3 separate regions of the Homo sapiens genome follow, and regions 2 and 3 are each linked to region 1. Evidence: promoter capture Hi-C in human tissues and cell types (Jung and others, 2019). All regions are on one chromosome and are shown on one strand. The core of a region is centred on a gene start or on the middle of the fragment in contact, and the rest is flanking DNA. Distances in the headings are between cores, read along the strand shown.

What was found. The method cuts DNA at HindIII sites, captures the fragments that hold promoters and counts their contacts. A contact is called where the count stands out against the background at its distance.
Region 2: a fragment that was not itself captured here is called in contact with the fragment with the promoter of SH3BP4 in region 1 in 2 of the 25 tissues and cell types used here (IMR-90 fibroblasts and mesenchymal stem cells).
Region 3: a contact is called between a fragment that was not itself captured here and the fragment with the promoter of SH3BP4 in region 1, in 1 of the 25 tissues and cell types used here (IMR-90 fibroblasts).

What each region holds. Positions count from the first base shown.
Region 1 is chr2:234,949,121-234,953,990 of GRCh38, reverse strand. SH3BP4 (SH3 domain binding protein 4) reads right to left here and starts at 1,974. Exons shown (of 6, transcript NM_014521.3): 1 at 1,821-1,974. It overlaps LOC105373938 (a long non-coding RNA gene), which reads right to left. Exons shown (of 7, transcript XR_007088132.1): 3 at 4,868-4,870; 4 at 4,206-4,405; 5 at 4,056-4,124; 6 at 2,640-3,393; 7 at 2,192-2,552. RefSeq lists an enhancer at 872-1,521. The HindIII fragment of the contact is 19,834 bases long and covers 1-4,870 here.
Region 2 is chr2:234,624,978-234,629,847 of GRCh38, reverse strand. The region is part of intron 1 of LOC105373936 (a long non-coding RNA gene); the gene reads left to right. Among named protein-coding and RNA genes, the nearest start is that of LINC01173, 55 kb to the left of the region's middle. The HindIII fragment of the contact is 3,551 bases long and covers 254-3,804 here.
Region 3 is chr2:234,642,837-234,647,706 of GRCh38, reverse strand. No RefSeq gene overlaps it. Among named protein-coding and RNA genes, the nearest start is that of LINC01173, 37 kb to the left of the region's middle. The HindIII fragment of the contact is 9,291 bases long and covers 1-4,870 here.

The DNA of each region.
Region 1 (4,870 bases), core at 725-3,224:
TCAGGCAGTGGGCAATCTGGGGTCCCGCCTAAATATCACTGCCCCCTTACTTTAAGAAATCCGCCTACAAGCAGAAAGCAGAGGTGGAGGAGGGGGATTGGAGAGCGCTGCCTCTTCCCAAGCTTCCCACTCTGAGGGATTTGGCCGAGTCCCGAGGGCACTGAGCAAGGAACCAGGAATATTGTCCTCAGGGCTCCACTGGACATTCCTGGAGTCTGTTTCCTGGGCAGGACGGCCAGGTGAGAGGCAGCCTATTACACTGCATGACCACTGCAATGAGGAACAGTAGAATGTTCCCCAGCGCCTTAAAGTACAGCCGCTGTCCATCCACGGATGTCAAAACGCTCTGCAAACCACCCATTAATTTTTATGGTGGCTTGAGAAGCAGATTGAGAATCATTACCTTCATTTTTACAAGGCAAGGAACCAAAACCACAGAGGGCGGTGAGGATCCAGGCCTCTCCCATCATTTCATCTGGGCCACGGATCTCAAGGAAAGCCCCCAGCCCACTGGGAAGGGGACTCGTGGCCAGCAGAGATTCTGCCCGGGTAGGGAGCAAGGAAAAAACCCAAACTTTGGAGCTCAGAGACGGTCACAAGGGTGAGAAGGGGCGGCTGCATTCAGGGATTCTCTGGTTTAGGCAAGAATGGCTCCAGTTCTAACTTAATGTTCAAATCTGCCAGGCTGTGACAAGGCTGGTAAAAAATGTGGGATTGGGGATGGTTTCCTGTTTGCTGTTTATATTTCTCTTTATCTCTAGCTTTCTGTCCTGAGCATACATTGTTTCTGTAATCAGAACAAAAGTTATGCGAACTTTATTATTATCACGGATAAATTCTATAGTTCCAATCTGCCTACTAACTTGGAAAGAATAAGCAGGAATACAATCTCGCACAGTGTTCTTTTTCAGATCTCATCGATCCATCAGGCTCCACGACCCTCTGCTCGCTGAGTCCGGCGGCTCTCCCGCGGCTCCTCCCGCGCGGCATCTCTGGGCGCCCGACACCCGGTCAGGGCCAGCTGGGCCTGTCCCCAACCCCCGTCTACACCGCAGGCCCCGGGCTAGGAGCCGCGGGACCCAGGGTTGGGGTCCCAACTGACACCCGCCCGTGCCGCGGAGCGGGCTTCTCGGTAAACATCGCTCAGAGAACAACGCGCCTCTATCCCAGCCGGTCCCCGCCCGCGGGCCGCCGGCGCTGTCACCTCGCGGCTGCTCGGTCACCCGATCGCCAAGCCAGAAACCGGAGTTTTCAATTTCATCCTCACAGGAGGGATCTCCGAAGAAGTTGAAATATGCATTGTCACCAACAAGTTTAACCGGAGACCGCGCGTCCTTCCCTCCTCCCCAGCGCCGCTCGAGGGGGGCGCCCCGACCCCTCCACGCCCTCCCGTGGCCCCCACGGCCCCCGTGAGCCGAGCGCGCCCCCCGATTTGCGCCCGAGGACGCGTCCGGTTGCCCAGGGAGGCCACCCCGCAGGGCCGCCCGCCGGGAAGTGGCCAGAGCCGGGGTTGGGGGGCGGCCCGAGCGCACGCGGAGGGCTGCGGCTCGGCGCCCGGAACCCCGGGCCGGGTCCCTGCCCACCAGCACCAGGGAGACCCGAGCGCCCGGGGGAGCGGCGAGGGGCGCGCGAGGCTTCCCCGAAGCCGCCCCACGCCCAGGCACCCGCGCAGCCCCGAACTCAGGCGGCGGTGGCACGATCGGCGCCCGCGGCACGATCTGCGCCCGCAAGGGAGTGCAAAGCCCCCGAGCACGACCCCGCGCCCCCGCCGGCCCCCAGGGCCCTGCCGCCCGAGGCGCTCCCCGCCGCCGCCTGCCTACCTGGCTCGCATGGCGTCCCCGCCGGCTCCTGAGGCTCCGCTCGTCGGCCAGCGGCTCGGCCCAGCCGGGGGCGCGCGCGGCTCCGCGGGACTCACGGCGGCGGCGGCGGCGGTAGTGGCGAGGGGCCCGGACCGCCGAGAGTGCCGGGCGCGCTGGGCCCCCGCCTCGGCGGGCGGAGGGTGGTCCCGCGCCTGGGCGGGGGCGGGGGCGGGGGCGGGGGCGGGGGCGCGGGGGGCGGGGCCAGGACCGGAGCTGAGGCCGCGGAGGGGGTGGTCCCGCGCCGGGGCGGGGCTTCGGGAGAGGGGCGGGGCGGGGCGCGGCCGTCTGAGGCTGGCGAGCGTGGGGCGGGCTGGGGGTGGTGCCGCGGCTCCGGGTCCAGGCGGGTATCCAGTCTGGGCGCCTCCTCTTCTTCCTCCGCCCGGAGCCGGCCAGGGTAGCGGGGCCTTGGCCGCCCGGCATCCTCGGGTCTGGGTCCCCGGTACCGAGCAGGTCTGGGTGCTGGCCCGCGCTCCTGTGCCCCCCCGCACCCCCATCTCCCACCCCTTCTCCGGGAACCCCTAGCGAGGACCCCTGGGGCGGTGCGGTCCCCCCGCGAGCGGGCGTGGGCGAGGGTCGCGCCGCGTTCGGAGACGCTTTACTACACCTTGGCTGAGGACAGTGGAGGGAAGGCAGGCGCGAGGCTGCGGGGGCCGGAGCGAAAGTTACAAACTAACAACAGGGAAGGCAGTCCGGCTGAAAATCATAAAAGGAGGAGAGTTTCCTGCGAAGCGGAATGCAGATTGAAGGGCTCTGGTCGGAATCGTTTACACTTTGTCTGACCTGGGCGCCTCTGGGCCCCCGGCGCGTAAAACAGGCCTGGCACGTAGTAGGCGCTCCATCAATGCCCAGTGAGTGAACGCACCACTTAACTATGTGGCCAGCAACGTCTATGGACCGACACATCTAATCCTAAAAAAAAAAAAAAATCCCAATTTTGGCTAGTCCATTTCACACGAGTAAACTAGAGCTCGGAGGGTTGGTTCGCCACAGAGGAGAAGGGTAGAACCAGAATCTGAACCGAGGCCGACTCCAGAGGCTGGGGTCTAACCACTGCGCCACTGCCTGGGGCCCTCGGGACTGCGCCCACCCCCACCCCGGGAACCCGGAGCCCAGGAGAAAGCGCGGGTCTTTGCCGGGGAAGAAGCCAACATTTGTTGCTCCTGGTCCTGAGCGAGACACACACAGTCAGTCCTCACCATTAACCCCGAGGCAGATATTGTTATTGTCCCCGTTTTTATAGGTGGCTTGAGACGTGCAGCACTATGTTATGATCGCATGGGGCGTGCCAGAGTCTGAATTCAAACCGGGTATGTTCAGACTCCCGAGCCCCTGCGGCTGCCCCTAAGGCCTGCCGCTCCTGCCGTCTGGGAGACCTTCCTTTCCCTAAGGAATCTGGTTTTCTGCCACTCCATTTGAAGTCTGTGTTGAAGTTTCAGGAGACACAGGTGGACAGAGGCACCGACCTAGGGCTCGGGAGAAGGGTGGACATTGCTGTTCCGATTTTGGTGTCATCTGTGTGTAGATCATGGAATTCCTGAAAATGGATACGAGTATCCCTAAAATACATGCCGCAGATTTTGAAAGGAGGCAGTGAGGCGAAGGGGCAGGTGGAGGAAGCAGAGAAGCCTCCGAGCAGAGGAGAGTTTCTGGGTGGCTAGGAGGTCTGATTGGTGTAGGGATGTGTCTGGAGTGTGCTTGAATCTCTGGCAAGTTATCTCGCCTCTCTGTGACTCAGTTTCCTAAATGAGTGTAAAAATGAAAGGCAGCATGTAAAGTGCTCAGCAGACTGCCTGGCACACAGTAGCTTTCAGTAAGTTTTAGCTACTATTAGTACTGCTATCCCAAATGACATCCACACTGTGTTTTTTAAAAAATGCCTATAAAAACATTGAAAAAGACAAGCCAGTAGAAAATGGACAAAAGCTATGAAGGTAATTCCTGAAATGCCACAAATGGCTCAAAGCATGAAAAGCTCCTTGACTATACTAGTGAGGGAGCTAAGGCAAAACATACACACACAAAAAACAATCGAATAAGAAAACTCAAGGCCTGTCCAGGCAGCTCAGTTCACTGAGCAGAGAGGGAGAAAGATACCCTAAAAACCACAAAGAACAAAGTGCCATGGAAACGCAGAATAGAACATGAATAAACAAAGCATTACAGATTTCGCCTGGGGAAGCAGAGAGTGTGTCTTACGATGTCCACATATGTATGCGCAGTACTTGCTATAGTCATGCCTCAAGCATCCTCAAACCAGTCCACATCCTAGAGAGGAATTAACAGAGGTCAGAATGTTTAAACAAAGTGGTTAAAAAAAAAAAGAAAAAAAAAACAAGAACACATTACCTTATATTCTTACTACAGTAACTGGAATTCTTCTTCAGCTCCTATGAGCCAGGGAGACAACATTACTGGTTTAGATGTAAGTTGTTTATGAACTGTTTTCTTTTTGTATCCTGGAAGGCAGAAAGGTCTCTAGATGTTGCTTCCTGTTGAATGTGTGCTTTTTTTCCACCAGTTTTTGTTACTTGCTCTTCTAAAGGCCTCTGGATCAAAAGAAAAAAAAATGAGCTATTCATTCATAACATTCAATTATTCAATAAGCCTTTCCAGTGGGAACACATACAGCAAAATCAATAACTTGGGTTTTTATTTTTTTTTAGTACAGAGATAACACATTTGTTTCAAAGGATTAAAATGATTAGAGAAATGTGTAGAGTAAAAAGTAAGCATCGATCCTAAGTTCCTACCCTTTCCCAGATTCCATAGTTCACAGTGAATTATACTCTACCAGAGGTTTTCCCCAAGCGTTTGCACGCGTTGGGTGCGTGCATGTGTAGATGATACATATGTGCGTGATGTGTGTGGGTATATATACGTGGACATGCATCTATGTATAAAGACAGTGTGGTAGGTTCTAAAATCAGGCTGCCCAGCTTTGAATGCCAGACCCACCACTCACCTGCTGGGTGACATAAAGCAGGGCCACTCAGTACCAGTGTTCTCACCTT
Region 2 (4,870 bases), core at 780-3,279, 320 kb after region 1:
ACAGTAAGTCTGAAATTGTCAGCAGAGAGAGAATTGAGTCATAAAATCTTAGAACTGGAAAGCATCTCAAGGCTCAATCATGACAGCCTCCTCTAGCAGCATCTACAGCGGGCCTCTGCCTCAGTACTGTGACAAGACATTATTTTGTGAATCTCAGATGTCTTTAGGTGATAGAAAGCCTCCCTCGGAAAAAGCATTCTGCAAGAGCATAGGATGAGGATTTTTAGTGGCTGCTGTTTGATTCAGTGTCATGATTCTGAGCACTTTGAGCTAGCTATGTGTTTGGTTGCATTTACTATATATGTGTATTATTTCATTTATTCTTTATAGCATATTTTCTTCCTTTCACAACAGTAAAAGTGAAAAAACAGGATAGCTCCCTGGTCCCCCTTGCAGAATGTGCCACAGGGGTGTGGCTCACCTGTTCAGTCGCTACCAATGCTCAAACCCCTGACAGGAGGGGTATCACACAGACGGGCAGGTGCAGGAACCAGGGCAAGCGCTTTCAGCTCTGGCCCTATGGTAGTGTCTAAGGGTGGGTGCCTGCAACCCCAGTGTTACAATGCTCTTTTAGTTACGTGGCCCACAGATGACTTAAGAGTTAACCAGCTCAGTGCCCTCTCTGCCTTTCTGCAAGGGCAGAGGACCAGTGTGACAGCTTTCTGTATCCTGAGCTCTTGTCCAGGGTCCTGGAAGAATCAGCTCACACGTGGACTTGAAGGATGAATGCAGAGTTTTACTGAGTAGCTTTCAGTGGGATGAATGGGGAGCTGGGAGGGGGATGGAGTGGGAAGGTGATCTTCCCCTGGAGTTTGGCCACCCAGCAGCCAAACTCCTCTCTGACCGCCCCCAGCTGAACTCCTCTCAGCGTTCAGACATTCCTTTTCTTCTCTCTTTCTCTGCCATGCCATTCTGCCATTCATCTGCTTGTTTTCTTGTCTCCTCATCTGCTCTTGGAGCCTGGGGCTCAGGGTTTATATGGGTACAGGACAGGGGGGCATTGCAGGCCAAAAGGCAACTTTTTGGGTGTGAAAACAGAAATGCCTATTCCCATTTAGGGCCACAAATTGACAGTGAGGCCTTTCCTAGGGAACCACCCTCTTCTACTCAGTATTTCCCTGTCTCCTGTCCATATCAGTAATCTGTGATTGCTAGTTCAAACAATACAGAAGTTTAAACAATAATAAAGGAAATAACCCTTTAGCATTCCTCCCTATCATTTTCATACTTCCTTACAGATTGTTTTTATAAATAGTTGATATTTTAATTGCCCTCCTGTGCATGTATTGGACATGCATATCTATTTTACTGTGTGTATGTATATATATATATATATATATATATATATATATATGGAGAGAGAGAGAGAGTAATCTATCACAGATTTCTTGAGGAAATTTACAAAAGAGTTAGTTTTTCATGTATTGATACAGAATTAGGTCCATGACAACTTTATATAATTTCATTAAAATTTTTTTTGTAATTTACCTATATAGATATTTAAATGCAAATATTTGATATCATACTACACACATTTTGTTTCATAACTATGTTTTCAAAAAATAAAAATTAAAAATCAGAAATTTTTTAGAAGGTAAAGAGATATAAATATTCCAGAAATATACAATCAGTTAATCCAATTGAAAGTTAATTTAGCATCTTGACAACCAAGGAAATAGAAAAATATGATGAGTTTTACATTTCTCATTATGTGATAAGGCAAAGCCAACATGGTTTCTGAAAAGAAACATATTTGGACACTAAAATCTATGTGGAATCCATTACATTGATCTTTATACACCTTCAGGTATGTAGGACAACCTATCAGACACTTCTTTGACTGTGATTTTGCAAAAATAGAGAAATATCCTCTATATAAGAGCATATAACTTCTCCCTCACAACAACAAAACACCAAAGAGCTGAAGACTTAATTAAGAAATTGCTTTACATAACAATAGCAAATCTGGCAACTCAGGAAGAAGATGTGGATCTGGGGAAAATTGCAAGAGGGAATTTGTTGGGCTTCCAGCTTCTGCTTAGGATGCAGAAAGATGGAAAGGGCATTCTAACAACAGCAGTAACAACATGCCAGGTCATCTGCAAGAAGCACCACTTTTTTCAACCCTATCAGAAAGCTGAGGTTGCAGAACCACCAAACTAACCCAAACTCTGAGGAATAATCCAGACACTAAGGTCACATATTCCATAATTCTATTTATATGAAATACTCAGAATCGAGAAATCCCTAGGAACAGAAAGCAGATTACTGTTTGCCAGAGGCTGGGTAAAGGGGAGTGGAGAGTGCCTGCTTGCTGAGTACAGGGTCTCCTTGGGGGATGATGAAAATGTTTGCAACTAGATAGAGGTCATGGCTGCACTCACTGTGAAGGTACTAGATGCCACTGAATTGCACACTTTATTTCTTTTCTTTTCTTTTCTTCTTTTCTGAGATGGAGTCTTGCTATTGCCCAGGCTGGAGTGCAATAGCACAATCTCGGCTCACTGCACCCTCCACCTCTCAGGTTCAAGCAATTCTCCTACCTCTGCCTCCTGAGCAGCTGGGATTACAGGCACCAGTCCCCACACTGGGAGAATTTTTGTATTTTTAGTAGAGATGGGGTTTCTACATCATGTTGGCTAGGCTGGTCTCGAACTCCTAACCTCAGGTGATCCCCCACATCAGCCTCCCAAAGTGCTGGGATTACAGGCGTGAGCCACCGCGCCCGGCTTGTACACTTTAAAATGGTTAATTTTATGTTATGTGAATTTTACCTCAGTTAAAAAACAAAACAAAATCAAAGGAAAAGAGCTCCTGAGACAGGATGTAAATCCTTGCTTACCTCGGGCAGAAGCAAACGGACGCCAAACAAGCCAAGTAAAAAGGATTAAGCTAAAGTGTTTGACAAAGTGCTAAAGGCCAAGGGATGGCCAGAGTGGGTGCAGAGAAGCCCTAAGCATGGCAGACACAAGAGGAATTCACACCCACTAGCAGGCTCTTCTCCACACGCCTCACTGCATGCTCACCAGAAAGATCAGAAGAGACCCAGAGATGGAGAAAACCACCCTCATGGTGCACCTGGTGGAAAGGAACAGTGGCCTCAGAGATAAGGGCATAAGGCACACCTGGGACCTTCTCCCCTGTATGAGTCACAGAGCTTAGCAGAAGCAAACTAGAAATCAAAAATAGACCTATAACTGGAAAACCAACTAAGCCATGGAAATTAAATAATACACTTCTAAATAATCCATGGATCAAAGAGGCAGTCATGAGAAAAATTAGAGAATACTTTGAAATGAATGAAAATGAAATCCATATCAACATTTGTACAATACAGCTAAAATCGTGCTTAGAGGGGAAATCTATAGCATTAAATGCCCATATTAGGAAAGAAGAAAGTTCTCTTATGAATGATTTAAGCTTACACTTTAAGAAACTAGAGAAGTAAGAGCCAATTAAACCCAAAGTGAGCAGAAAAAAAGAAATCATAGCATGAACAGCAGAAATCAATGAAATGGAGAAAAGAAATATGATAGAGAAAATCAATGAAACCAAAAGCTTGTTCTTTGAAATAGTCAGTACATTTGCCATACTGATTAGAACAAAACAGAAGTAGAAGTTATCAATATTAGGAATTTTAAAAAGATATTGAAAGATGGCTGCTCAAACCTCAGGCCATATATCCATTGGAGAGGCAGTCTTCTGCCCAGTTAATAAAACAGGCTCAGGAATTGAATCTCATTGGTCCTGATGAGCCTGTTCTTGTCACATGTCCACCTCTGAGCCAATCACTGATGCCAGGGTTGGAAAGTGCTGACTGGCTTCCTCTAGGTACCACCTTCCAGTCCTGGAGTCTGGGACAGACAGAATTGTCTCATCTAAAACCTGTGGCCTCAGAGGAGAAACGTGGATGTGGGCTGCCATGCAGCAAGTAGCTCAGACATCTGGAAATACAAACTCCAAAGGAGGGCAAATGGCAGCCGACACCCCCTCAGAGCTTCCAGTAAGAAGAGCAGAGCATTCTTGAGAGCCTCCTTGTTCCATGGAAGCTTCAGCACAGGGAATGATAACCTTGGGACACCCCAGTGACCACGCCCCAGTCCTAGAGCTGACATGCCACACTTTGTCCATGTAGGACTGCCACGCCCCTTATTGACTCAGTCCTCTAAGTATTAAAGCACCCCAGGAATGGAGGAGTCCTGACCTTGCCATCCCTGGGAGAGGGTGGCATGGGGAAGAAGCAGGCGGGAAGGGACTCGGAATAGCTCTTCCTCTAGGTGTCCTCTTTTCTTGTCTCCAGCTACTGTGTTGTTCCCACCACCAACACGATGGTCTATAAGGAGAAACTTATAAAGGGCAACCTGACACCAAAAATGAGACGTCAGGTTGCCATTTCAAATCTCTAAGTCTCTCTTCTTTAGCAGAGACAAAGGAGAATGAGCAAGAAGGTCATTTTTCTCAGCATCATTTATCAAGCTGTTACCATGTAAACTGCTTTGTAATTAACATTTCCTTGCCTTATTTCTGGGGCTATAACTGTGCTTCTCACCATTATTTTGGCTTCATTACAAAGAACAGCAGTTTATTTATTAAATGACACACAGCTTGTGGGACATGAGTGTTAACTGTCAGAATAGACCTGGTTTTGTTAGAAGTACTGTTTCATTTATGATATATGGAAAACAGAACCTGGTTCTTTCCTTGAATTCCAATCCTTTTCCTATTTGTTTCATAAAGATAGCAAGCAACACAGCACCCAGGTGATAGCTGCATTATGAATAACTTAAGCTCAGTTTGGCACATATTTGGATGGGTCTCTGGGCACCTTGATATAGTTGCTATCAAGATGTCAATAAATACCTATTTAAGG
Region 3 (4,870 bases), core at 1,543-4,042, 310 kb after region 1:
CAGTGGGAGTAGGCAGCAGTGGGAGTAGGCAGCAGCGGGAGTAGGCAGCAGCGGGAGTAGGCAGCAGTGGGAGTAGGGAGGCAGTGGGAGTAGGGAGGCACGGGGAGTAAGGCAGCAGTGGGAGTAGGGAGGCAGTGGAAGTAGGGAGGCAGTGGGAGTAAGGCAGCAGTGGGAGTAGGGAGGCAGTGGGAGTAGGCAGCAGTGGGAGTAGGGAGGCAGTGGGAGTAGGGAGGCAGTGGGAGTAGGCAGCAGTGGGAGTAGGGAGGCAGTGGGAGTAGGGAGGCAGTGGGAGTAGGCAGCAGTGGGAGTAGGGAGGCAGTGGGAGTAGGGAGGCAGTGGGAGTAGGCAGCAGTGGGAGTAGGGAGGCAGTGGGAGTAGGCAGCAGTGGGAGTAGGCAGCAGCGGGAGTAGGCAGCAGCGGGAGTAGGCAGCAGTGGGAGTAGGGAGGCAGTGGGAGTAGGGAGGCACGGGGAGTAAGGCAGCAGTGGGAGTAGGGAGGCAGTGGAAGTAGGGAGGCAGTGGGAGTAAGGCAGCAGTGGGAGTAGGGAGGCAGTGGGAGTAGGCAGCAGTGGGAGTAGGGAGGCAGTGGGAGTAGGGAGGCAGTGGGAGTAGGCAGCAGTGGGAGTAGGGAGGCAGTGGGAGTAGGGAGGCAGTGGGAGTAGGCAGCAGTGGGAGTAGGGAGGCAGTGGGAGTAGGGAGGCAGTGGGAGTAGGCAGCAGTGGGAGTAGGGAGGCAGTGGGAGTAGGGAGGCAGTGGGAGTAAGGCAGCAGTGGGAGTAGGGAGACAGTGGGAGTAGGGAGGCAGTGGGAGTAGGGAGGTAGTGGGAGTAGGGAGGCAGTGGGAGTAGGGAGGCAGTGGGAGTAGGGAGGCAGTGGGAGTAGGGAGGCAGTGGGAGTAGGGAGGCAGTGGGAGTAGGGAGGCAGTGGGAGTAGGGAGGCAGTGGGAGTAGGGAGGTAGTGGGAGTAGGGAGGCAGTGGGAGTAGGGAGGCAGTGGGAGTAGGCAGACAGTGGGAGTAGGCAGCAGTGGGAGTAGGGAGGTAGTGGGAGTAGGCAGCAGTGGAAGTAGGGAGGTAGTGGGAGTAGGGAGGCAGTGGGAGTAGGCAGCAGTGGGAGTAGGGAGGCAGTGGGAGTAGGGAGGCAGTGGGAGTAGGCAGCAGTGGGAGTAGGGAGGCAGTGGGAGTAGGGAGGCAGTGGGAGTAGGCAGCAGTGGGAGTAGGGAGGCAGTGGGAGTAGGGAGGCAGTGGGAGTAGGCAGCAGTGGGAGTAGGGAGGCAGTGGGAGTAGGCAGCAGTGGGAGTAGGCAGCAGCGGGAGTAGGCAGCAGCGGGAGTAGGCAGCAGTGGGAGTAGGGAGGCAGTGGGAGTAGGGAGGCACGGGGAGTAAGGCAGCAGTGGGAGTAGGGAGGCAGTGGAAGTAGGGAGGCAGTGGGAGTAAGGCAGCAGTGGGAGTAGGGAGGCAGTGGGAGTAGGCAGCAGTGGGAGTAGGGAGGCAGTGGGAGTAGGGAGGCAGTGGGAGTAGGCAGCAGTGGGAGTAGGGAGGCAGTGGGAGTAGGGAGGCAGTGGGAGTAGGCAGCAGTGGGAGTAGGGAGGCAGTGGGAGTAGGGAGGCAGTGGGAGTAGGCAGCAGTGGGAGTAGGGAGGCAGTGGGAGTAGGCAGCAGTGGGAGTAGGCAGCAGCGGGAGTAGGCAGCAGCGGGAGTAGGCAGCAGTGGGAGTAGGGAGGCACGTGGGAGTAAGGCAGCAGTGGGAGTAGGGAGGCAGTGGGAGTAGGGAGGCAGTCGGGGAGTAAGGCAGCAGTGGGAGTAGGGAGGCAGTGGGAGTAGGGAGGCAGTGGGAGTAAGGCAGCAGTGGGAGTAGGGAGGCAGTGGGAGTAGGGAGGTAGTGGGAGTAGGGAGGCAGTGGGAGTAGGCAGCAGTGGGAGTAGGGAGGCAGTGGGAGTAGGCAGCAATGGGAGTAGGGAGGCAGTGGGAGTAGGGAGGCAGTGGGAGTAGGCAGCAGTGGGAGTAGGGAGGCAGTGGGAGTAGACAGCAGTGGGAGTAGGGAGGCAGTGGGAGTAGGCAGCAGTGGGAGTAGGGAGGCAGTGGGAGTAGGCAGCAGTGGGAGTAGGGAGGCAGTGGGAGTAGGGAGGTAGTGGGAGTAGGGAGACAGTGGGAGTAGGCAGCAGTGGGAGTAGGGAGGCAGTGGGAGTAGGGAGGCAGTGGGAGTAGGGAGGTAGTGGGAGTAGGGAGGCAGTGGGAGTAGGCAGCAGTGGGAGTAGGGAGGCAGTGGGAGTAGGCAGCAGTGGGAGTAGGGAGGCTGTGGGAGTAGGGAGGTAGTGGGAGTAGGGAAGCAGTGACTACAGAAGGACATGGTGAGGGGTCCCAGTTGAGATGGAAATATCCTACATCTTGACTGTATCTGTGTCAATATCCTGGTGCTGATGTTGTATTATAGTTTTGTAATAGGTTGCTATTGGGGGTAACTGTGTAAGGGGTACACAAAATCCCTCTGTATCATTTCTTAGAAGTGCATGAAGCTACAATTATCTCAAAGCAAAAAATTTAAAGACAAAAAAATGAACCTCATTCTTCTGCTTCCAGCTAGAGTGGCTAGCCAGGTTAAATAGTTTTGATATTTCTAGAACCTAGCATGGGACTCCTTTCATACACTGAAGTGAAATATCTAGTGAAAAATTGATCACAAGTTAGAACAGCCTGAAGGGCTCTGTCCATGGAAATGTCTCCTGTCCACTGTCCCCTTCATCTCAGCCTCTGTGGGGACACAGCAGAGTGAGGCTATATTATAAGATAAAGCCTTTTGTTATTTGTGATTTCTTGGGCAAGTTCTTCAACTGCTTGTTTCTGTTAGTAAAATATACACAATAGTACCTGTTTTCTGAAGTTTTTATAAAGAGTAAATATGGAAAAGTGGGAAACAATGGGTGTTCATAGCTATGATTCAGATTAAACAATAGGTAGTAGATTATTGTAATGGAATAAAGAAGGCAAAATTAGTAGAAATATAAAATTTACTGAAAATTATACAAAGGAGAAAATTGTTCTTTGTTCTGTTTTTCTCTTTATGCCTTCTTTGGATTAATCAATTATTTTTATCAATCCCTTGTTATCTCCTTCTATTGGCTTTTCTTTGTTATACATTTCTCTATTATTCTTTTAGTGGTTACTATATATTATCATACACATCCTTCACTTATTAGATATACCAGTAATTTTTTTTATCATTTCCAGGAGAATGTAAAGAGCTTACAACAAGTTAAAGCTGTTTATCTTACCTGCCTTTATACATATATATATATTTTGAGACTAAGTCTCGCTCTGTCACCAAGGCTAGAGTGTAGTGGCATGATCTCAGCTCATTGCAACCTTTGCCTCCCAGGTTCAGGTGATTCTCCTGCCTCAGCTTCCTGAGTAGCTGGGATTACAGGCATGTGCCACCACACCTGGCTAATTTTTGTATTTTTGGCAGAGACAGGGTTTCACCATGTTGGCCAGTTTGGTCTCGAACTCTTGACCTCAAGTGATCTGCCTGCCTCAGCCTCCCAAAGAGCTGGGATTACAGGCATAAGCCACCATGCCCTGCCTATCCTACCTGACTTTTGTGATAACATTTTGCATTCTGATTTTATATTTTAAGTCTCAATGCTACATTATCATTTGATACAGTTGATGATATGTTAAAATTTACACACACATTTGCCTCTTTTAATGCTCATTATTTCTTCCTGTTTTACTGTGCATTTACCTGGAATCAAAAAAATCCTTTCAGTATTCCTTTCTCTTTTTTTGGTAGAGTCAGGGTCTTTCTATGTTGCCCAAGCTGGACTCAAACTCCTGGGCTCAAGTGATCCTCCTCCCTCAAATTTCTGAGTAGCTGGGACTGCAGGTGCACACCACAGTGCCTCGATTAGTATTTCCTTTTTTAATATTAAATGACCATGAATTCTGTCAGGATTTTCTAAATCTAAAGATGTTTTTATTTCTGATTCACTGTTGGAGAATATTTTTGCTACATACAAAATTCTACATTAGTAGCTGTTTTCTTTCAAAACATTAGGTATACCAATTCCATTGCTTTTTGGTTCCCACCGTATTGGTTGAGAAATCAGCTGTCAGTCTTATTACTGTAGCTTTAAAAGTAAAGTCATAGCAAAAATATTTCCTAGTATAAAATAATTCCTATAATTCTATTTTACACACACACACACACACACACACACATATACATATAAACTAAAGTTCTTTTACATGTTCTAAGTCCATGGATACGTTTGTTAAGGTTCCAAATTAAAATGAAGAATGTAAGCTAATTCATCAATCTAGAGTACAAAAGATAGAAACAGGGTGATCACACTAATAGACCACATTCTTTTACATATTACAAACATACTAAGTTATCCATTATGCACAGATTTGGTTTTAATTTTTAAACCATTTTGCATTTAATTCTAACACTTTCTGGAGTTAAAAGATTTCTATTTGCTAAAAAAGACAGTTAAAATCTTATTTTACTGAGGTTACATAATTCTAAAATATTTGGGAGTTGATATATATAAGATTATGGAAACTCAATACATTAAAGTTAACTGAGATATCTTAGGGCCAAAGATTTTAATTGTGTAAGAGATCTTCTTATATACTAATTGAGCCAAAAGAGCTCCTTTTTAGAAATACTGGATCATGAGCCTCAAACTTGTAACAAAGTTGGTCTCAAAGCTTATGTAGCCCTTTATACCAGGAGTCACGATATTTTCATTAATTTTTAATTCAAATGTCAGATGTCAACAACTCCTACCCAGGATGATTACTTGTTTGGATTTTCTACTTCCTTTTTATTTTAAAGATATTTAAACACATTCTTAGTCAAGCTATATGGACTT